Regions from separate parts of the Homo sapiens genome. Here regions 1 and 2 are each linked to region 3. Evidence: promoter capture Hi-C in human tissues and cell types (Jung and others, 2019). All regions are on one chromosome and are shown on one strand. Each heading gives the region's core, a stretch centred on a gene start or on the middle of the fragment in contact. The rest is flanking DNA. Distances are from core to core; before and after follow the strand shown.

What was found. Contacts are between HindIII fragments. The study calls those that stand out against the background at their distance.
Region 1: a fragment that was not itself captured here is called in contact with the fragment with the promoter of MYBPC3 in region 3 in 1 of the 25 tissues and cell types used here (pancreas).
Region 2: a contact is called between a fragment that was not itself captured here and the fragment with the promoter of MYBPC3 in region 3, in 1 of the 25 tissues and cell types used here (aorta).

Annotation. Positions count from the first base shown.
Region 1 is chr11:46,570,067-46,572,766 of GRCh38, reverse strand. The region is part of intron 1 of AMBRA1 (autophagy and beclin 1 regulator 1); the gene reads left to right. Among named protein-coding and RNA genes, the nearest start is that of AMBRA1, 23 kb to the left of the region's middle. RefSeq lists an enhancer at 1,740-1,869. The HindIII fragment of the contact is 5,695 bases long and covers 1-2,700 here.
Region 2 is chr11:46,710,325-46,713,024 of GRCh38, reverse strand. No RefSeq gene overlaps it. Among named protein-coding and RNA genes, the nearest start is that of F2, 7.5 kb to the left of the region's middle. The HindIII fragment of the contact is 6,245 bases long and covers 1-2,700 here.
Region 3 is chr11:47,351,367-47,354,066 of GRCh38, reverse strand. MYBPC3 (myosin binding protein C3) reads left to right here and starts at 1,365. Exons shown (of 35, transcript NM_000256.3): 1 at 1,365-1,444; 2 at 2,562-2,700. The coding sequence starts at 1,420. RefSeq lists an enhancer at 1,741-2,700. The HindIII fragment of the contact is 22,693 bases long and covers 1-2,700 here.

The DNA of each region.
Region 1 (2,700 bases), core at 126-2,625, 780 kb after region 3:
GGGATGATAACACCTACCTTTCAAGAGTTGTTGTAAGGATCAGAAATAACATGTAAAGTGCCTGGTTCAGAGTAAACACCCCAAAATACTAGCTGATTGTCAAGATGATGATGATAATGCTGACAATTTTTCAGTGGGTATTGACAGTTCCCTCCAATGCCTAAGAGCTTCTGCCATATCAAAGATAGGCAGTTCTTTACCTACTGTATGCACCTCATGGTGGGTGCTTAGTGTGCTCGTTTTTGATGAAGTTCGTTTTTAAACTGCTATGATTATTTACTCATGGATGTATCTATGATTGATTAAATGAGAAAACTTGGACTTCATTAAATTTATTGTTACTGGATTTAAAGCAGCAGCAGTGCAAAGAAACCCTATACAGTGAGTTAAGAGCCCTGGGTTTATGTCTAGAGATGCCCTTAGTGAGTCTTATAACAATGGACAAGTGAATCTAACTTTTTTTTTTTGAGATGGAATCTCGCTCTATCACCAGGCTGGAGTGCAGTTGCACGATCTCTGCTCCCTGCAACCTCCGCCTCCCGGGTTTAAGCGATTCTCCTGCCTTAGCCTCCCGAGTAGCTGGGATTACAGGCTGGCGCCACCACGCCCAGCAAATTTTTGTATTTTCGGTAGAGACGGCATTTCATCATGTTGGCCAGGATGGTCTCGATCTCTTGACCTTGTGATCCACCCACCTCGGCCTCGCAAAGTCCTGGGATTATAGGCGTGAGCTACCACGCCTGGCTGTGAATCTAACTTTTTAAGATATTGATTGATTGGGCAGGGCGCAGTGGCTTAAGCCTGTAATCTCAGCACTTTGGGAGGCTGAGGCAGGCGGATCACGAGGTCAGGAGTTCAAGACCAGCCTGACCAACATGGTGAAACCCTGTCTCTACTAAAAACACAAAAATTAGCTGGGCGTGGTGGTGCGCTCCTGTAGTCCCAGCTACTCAGGAGGCTGAGGCAGGAGAATCTCTTGAACCTGGGAGGTGGAGGTTGCATTGAGCTGAGATCACGCCACTGCACTCCAGCCTGGGGCGACAGAGGGACACTTTGTCTCAAAAAAAAAAAAAAAAAAAGATTGATTGATTGAGACACGGACTCATTCTGTCACCTAGGCTAGAGTGCAGTGACACAAACCATGGCTTACTGCAGCCTTGACCTTCCAGGCTAAAGTGGTCTTCCTGCCTCAGCCTCCTGAGTAGCTGGGACTACAGGTATGTGCCACCATGGCTGGCTAATTTTTGTATTTTTTGTAGAGATGGGGTTTTGCCAGATTGCCCAGGCTGGTCTCGGACTTTAGGGCTCAAACACTCCTTCTGCTTTGCCTCCCAAACCACTGGGATTACAGAAGTGAACCACTGTAATATGGCTACTTTTCAAGATTTTATGTTCAAAATGATCCCTAAGTCACTTTTAACTCTGTATATCCATGATTTGACAAAAAAGTTAAAGATACTTTATTTTCATTGCTAGAATTTCTAAAAATTACAGGGTTATTTTTGGAGAAGGAGCTTTGTGCTGACTTGAGCTGGCAAACTTCTGTCATACTTACTGAGTGATTTGTATAGAAGAACACTGGGGACCTTTTGCCCAGGCATAAGAATTGGTATTTGTCATTTATAGAATATCAGCGGAATTGAAGCCAGAACCATTGTAAGGAGGCAAATGTGAGAGATTATCTGTTGCTTTTGGGAAGATAGCTGGAGTTTTCAAACCATGCCACTTTGTACTTCCTTGAGGGTAACACTTGCCACATTTCAGTACAGTGGTTATGGTTACAGTATATTGCAGTTGTAGTCTCCCCACAAGCTCTCAGAGGTTAGAGGCCTTTTTTGTTCATTTATTTTTTTTCCAGTTCTCTATCCCTTTCTTGGAGTAGGGCTTGCTGCATCGTGTAGTCTTCCAAAAGTATGCTAAATGGACAAAAATAGTTGAACCAAGATCAGCAGATGTATTTAGAAAATGACTTGTGCCTACATGCTTGTTAACTGTCTTGAATTTTTTCTGTTGTCATGTGTTAATATAGAAAAACCTGATAAAGGGAAAAAACCCAGTGTTGTATCATTAACCTACAGTTTATCTCTTACTGGCTTAAAAAAAAATATTAACAGCAATCAAATTACTGTTCAATGGGGGGGCAAGTAACATCACGTTGAGCTAGGGTTTTGTCTGTAAAATGGGAGTGGAGTGGGAGGAGACTTTAGAGATGGGGTATATAAGGCATTGGCACTTAATAGTGGTCATACCTCGTATTACAAATGAATGTTTTTAAAATGATCAGCAATATACTTCACATTTCTACCTGAAGAAGGAATGTAATTTTGGAGAAGCTTATACATGGGAGAATTATCTCCACTTGTCATTTTCTGCTGAAAAGATATAATTTCGTACTTCTCCCTCTGGGCCCACAGGATAGTTCCATGGAGGAGACTTAGAGTGGGGATGGGCTCCTAGAGTAGCTGCAGAAGACCTTGCTTTTTTTTTTTTTTTTTTTTTTTTTTTGAGACATGGTCTCACTGTGTTGCCCAGGCTGGAGTTCAATGGTGCGATCTCTGCTCACTGCAACCTCTGGCTCCCAGGTTCAAGCGATTCTTCTGCCTCAGCCTCCCAAGTAGCTGGGATTACAGGCATGCACCACCATGCCCAGCTATTTTTTTATATTTTTAGTAGCGACAGGATTTCACCATGTTGGCCAGG
Region 2 (2,700 bases), core at 200-2,699, 640 kb after region 3:
AAGTTGATGCAGCTAGTCAAGGTCAAAGCCCCAACCCACTCCTGAACACGTCTAGAGATGGAGCTTTTTATCATCTGTGATGCCTTGCAATCTCTAAAGGTCTCTGAACGGTACCCATTTTTTATTCTAAGATTTTTTTTCTTGCACTACTAAAGTTGCAAATCAGGACAGAAGAGCTTTGATAGCCCTCGCTTTCTGATTTTGGGTTCAGCAGCTATAGACACTGCCTGGATTGACTTGCATCTGTGAAAAGGCTCCAGCAAAATCTTATTAGCGTCTTTGCCCTGTAGCAAGAAGCATCCAAATTCAGTATATACATCAAATCATTAAAAATGACCTATCAGGAGTGAATGAGAGGAGAGGTGTGGAATAAAGGGACTTTCAACATTATAATTAATAAAAATTATATGTGGTCAGGCGCAGTGGCTCACGCCTATAATCCCAGCAATTTGGGAGGCCAAGGTGGGCAGATCACCTGAGCTCAGGAGTTCAAGACCATCCTGGGCAACATGGTGAAACCCCGTCTCTACTAAAATACAAAAAATTAGCTGGGCATGGTGGTGCATGCCTGTAGTCACACCTACTTGGGAGGCTGAGGCACAAGAATCCCTTGAACCCGGGAGGCAGAGGTTGCAGTGAGCCAAGATCACGCCACTGCACTCCATCCTGGGTGACAGAGTGAGGCGGTCTCAAAAATAATAATAAATAAATAAATAGACTAGGCATGGTGGCTCATGCCTGTAATCCTAACACTTTGGGAGGCTGAGGTGAGTGGATCACTTGAGGACAGAAGTTCAAAACCAGCCTGGCCAACCATGGTGAAACCCTGTGTCTACTAAGAACACAAAAAACAGTCTGGGCATGGTGGCTCACCCCTGTAATCCCAGCACTTTGGGAGGCCAAGGTGGGTGGATCACCTGAGGTCAGGAGTTCGAGACCAGGCTGGTCAACATGGTAAAACCTCGTCTCTACTAAAAATACAAAAATTAGCCGGGCGTGGTGGCAGGTACCTGTAATCTCAGCTACTCAGGAGGCTGAGGCAGGAGAATTGCTTGAACCCAGGAGGCAGAGGTCGCAGTGAACTGAGGCAGTGCCACTGCACTTTAGCCTGGGCGATAGAGCAAGACTCCATCTCAAACAAAAAATCCATCTCAAAAAATAAATAAAATGAAAATTATATTGAAATCAGAGGAAAAAAAAAATAAAATATATATATATATATATATATATTTTTCAGACAGGGTCTTGTTGTGCTGCCCAGGCTAGAATGCAGTGGTAAAATCACAGCTCACTGTAGCCTTGAAATTCTGAAAATATTTTCTCAGTGAAAAAAAATATTCCAGTGATTAGTCTTTCCAAGAATGGTCTGCCTTTTATTTGAGCTGGAAGAGCACTAAATTAGGAATCAGAAGGCCGGAATTCTGTCCTGGTTCTGCTACTGACTGGTCTTCTGACCCTGGCAAGTGACTTGTGTTGTGGCCTCTGTTTTCTCATGGGTAACTGTAACATGAGGATCTTGGGAGATGCTGTGTAACACCCATTCTCACTTGAGCCATGCGTGTTGCCAGAGCAGAGACTCCCAAATCACCTGCCTTCCAATCCGTTGGCTCTGTCCTGACCCTGCTCCGACCCTGCTCCATGTACCATGTACCAGGGACGGCTTTAATGGAGGAAAAATTCTCCAATCTGTGTGGGGAATGTGGAAAGGGAGTGTGGGCATCTCAGCTGTTGGCCTGGGGATGCTGTGGGGTGTCAACAGGCCTCCCGGACAGCCCAGAGCATCCCCACGTCCTGCACAGTTCAATGTCAAGCAAGGAGCGTGTCCCCAGGATGCCTAAAACGCTAGGCAGACACTGCTGAGCAGTCCCCTGAGTTGAAGTGGGCCTGCCTGAGTCAGGAGCTGGAAAAGAAATTGAGCAGGTTCCAAGTCACAGGGTAGGCTGACTCAAAACTAATCTTAGCAGCTGTTTCTCAGGCTTTGGACAGTGTGGCCTTTCTCTTCACAGATCACCACGATTTCCTGCTGTCCTCCCGCCCCTTGGACAATTTTAGGTTTATGCTTTGCCAAGTTTTTCAGATTGGGCAGGCAACTGGGTTAATGTCAGTGGCAAACCAGGAGGCACGGGGCTGCCGGTGACATCGTGGTCAAGTGCTGGGAAGCCAGAAAACCACCCACATTAGAATCCTGGCTTTTGGCCGGGCACGGTGGCTCACGCCTGTAATCCCAGCACTTTGGGAGGCTGAGGCAGGTGGATCACTTGAGGTCAGGGGTTTGAGACCAGCCTGGCCAATATGGCAAAACTCCATCTCTACTAAAACTACAAAAATTAGCCGGGCATGTTGGCACACACCTTTAATCCCAGCTACTTGGGAGGCTGAAGCAGGAGAATCGCTTGAACCCGGGAAGAGGAGGTAAAGTTAGCGGAGTAGAGTTAGCAGAGACCGCAACACTGCAGTTCAGGCTGGGTGACAGAGTGAGATTCTGTCTCAAAAAAAAAAGAAGAATCCTGGCTTTGCCTCTTACTGATGGTGTGATCTTGTCATCCTCTCTGAGCCTCAGTTTCTTTTTTTTTTTTTTTGAGACAGAATTTTGCTCTTTTGGCGCAGGCTGGAGTGCAGTGGCGTGATCTTGCCTCGCCGCAACCTCTGCCCCCCGGGTTCAAGCGATTCTCCTGCCTCAGCCTTCCAAGTAGCTGGGAT
Region 3 (2,700 bases), core at 116-2,615:
CCCAACGCTGTCAAAGACCTTAGGGAACCCAGATTCTGGGGCCATTATCGTAGGGACAAATACCCGCCCCACACCTCCTCAACCCCAGAGGGCTCACTGCAGCCCAACCCTGCAGCTCCCTAGTCCTACTGCAGGGCCACAAGAGAAGGCAAAATGGTGTTGTGTCTTCATTCTTCTATTTTTATTTTTTTTTTTTTGAGACAGGGTCTTACTTTGTTGCCCAGGCTGGAGTGCAGTGGCACGAACATGGCTCACTGCAGCCCTGACCCCCCGGGCTCAAGTGATTCTCCTGCCTCAGCCTCCCGAGCATCTGGGACTACAGGTGTGCGTCACATGCCTGACTGATTTTTGTATTTTTTGTACAGATGGGGTTTCATCATGTTGCCCAGGCTGGTCTCGAACTCCTGAGCTCAAGTGATCTGCCCGCCTCAGCCTCCCAAAGTGCTGGGATTACAGGTGTGAGCCACTTCGCCCAGCCCATTTTTATTTTTTTATTATTATTCTTTGAGATATTAATAATAAAAAATAATAATAAATAATATTTTTATTATTATTATCACTCTGTCACCCAGGCTGCAGTGCAGTGGTGCGATTTTGGCTCACTGCAGCCCGGAACTCCTTGGACTCAAGCGATCCTCCCACCTCAGCCTCCTGGGTAGCTGATACTACAGGTCCACACCACCACACCTGGCTAATTTGTGTGTGTGTGTGTATTTATTTTATTTTTTATTTTTTTAGTAGAGATGGGGTTTTGCCATGTTGCCCAGGCTGGTCTCAAACTCCTGGCCTCAAATAATCTGCCTGCCTCGGCCTCCCAAAGTGCTGGGATTACAGATGAGCCACCACACCCGGCCTAACATTTTTAAAATTATAAACCCACTTCATACGTGTGACAATCCTGTGCAGTGGGTGCTGCTTTCACCCACCCCGCTTTACAGATGAGGAAACCAGGTGCTTTGAGATTAAAGAGATGGCAGTGCTAGGACTCAGAGACACCCTGGCCCCAGGGTCTGTGGACATGACCACTGCCTGAACTGCCTGCGAGGATGCTCCTGACCCGTTAGCCTTAGGGTTATGGGCCCAGCATGCTCCCACCGTACAATTTGCTGTAAGAGGGACACACACGGGGCTTGGAGTACCCCTGAGGCTTGCCAAAGGTTGGGGAGGCAGAATTGTGCTGCGGGGGGTGAGGGGGGAAGGGACAGGAGCCAGCCAGGGACAATGTGGCCCTACCTTCTCCCTGGAGAGACCTCAGCTCTCTGGAATTCATCTATATTTAGCAGGTGGCTGGACAGGAGGCAGATAAGCAGAGCCTGGGGAGGGGGGAGGTCCCCATATATAGTGGGAAGGACAGGACCCCACTCAGTCCCTCTTTGGGTGACCTGTGCCTGCTTCGTGCCTGGTGTGACGTCTCTCAGGATGCCTGAGCCGGGGAAGAAGCCAGGTAGCTTTAGGACTGGGGTTGGGTCTAAGTGTGGGAGCAGGGGGGTGTCTACAATTGGGGAGCAGGGCTAGGAGGGAGTTCTTGAGGGGGTTGACGAGGACGTGGCCTCTGAGCCCCAGGACAGGGGCAGCCAGTCCTCCAGGGTCCTTTTTTGATTCTCGGTTTCTTTTTCCCATCCCTCTGATGAGAGGTGAAGGTAAACCCAAGGTCAGGGACGCAGAGAGGGGACACAGCCAAGACAGGAAGCACCCGGGGTCAACCCATTCTGAGAATGCAAAGGGACCCCTTCCCTGTCCCATTGCCTTCACCTTCCACAGCAAGGTTCCCCGCGGACAGAGCCCACGTTTAGTATGGAGCTGAGCCAGGCTCACGGCATGCCTTCAGACCAGTCTCTACCCACTATGGGTCTCAGTCTCCCAACCTGGGGTGCCGGGGGTGGTGGTGGCATTGGGTTGGTTCCTCCTGGCTGTGACATTATCTGCTTCATGAGCCTGTACGGTGTGGCCCCCATGTTGAGGGTGACACAGCCCCTCTTCTCTGAGAGAGGACAGTCAGGAGCCCCTGAACCCAGGCCAAGGGCAGGGAAAATCACAGCCCAGGGACCTGGGCCTGGGCTGTGCCCTTATGAAGGTTGTCCAGGGCAGAGATCCAGGTCCCCATCCCCCAGCGCCCTCCCAGGCCAGCTTTATCTCAGTTGCTGATACCCAGCCTGAGGTCCTTGGAGGACAAATTTGGCCACATTCCAAGTAGGCAGACTTCCCCGCCCCCTGCCAAGGGCCCGAAATGGTTGGGGGAAAGGGAGCTGGGTTCATCACGGGTGTCTCCAAGCAGGGAAAGTGGACACATGCAGAAAAAGTCTTGTTGGGAGGTCAGGACCACAGCCCTGGCTCTCCCGACTGCTAGCTGTGTGATCTTGGAGGAGCCGCTTAGCTTCTCTGAGCCTCAGTGTCCTCCTCTGAGAAATGAACAGAATAACTGCAACTACCTCAGAGAACTGGTAGAGTATTACGTGAGGGGATGCATAGAAAGTGCTAGCACAGTATTTACTGAGAGGGGCTGCAGGGGCGGGGTGCACGCTCCAACCAGGGGCCGCTGTAGCCTCCACCTGGCCCTTCAGTCTCAGCTTTTAGCAAGAAGCCACGGTCAGTGGAAGTGGCCGCAGGCAGCCCTGCCGTGTTCGAGGCCGAGACAGAGCGGGCAGGAGTGAAGGTGCGCTGGCAGCGCGGAGGCAGTGACATCAGCGCCAGCAACAAGTA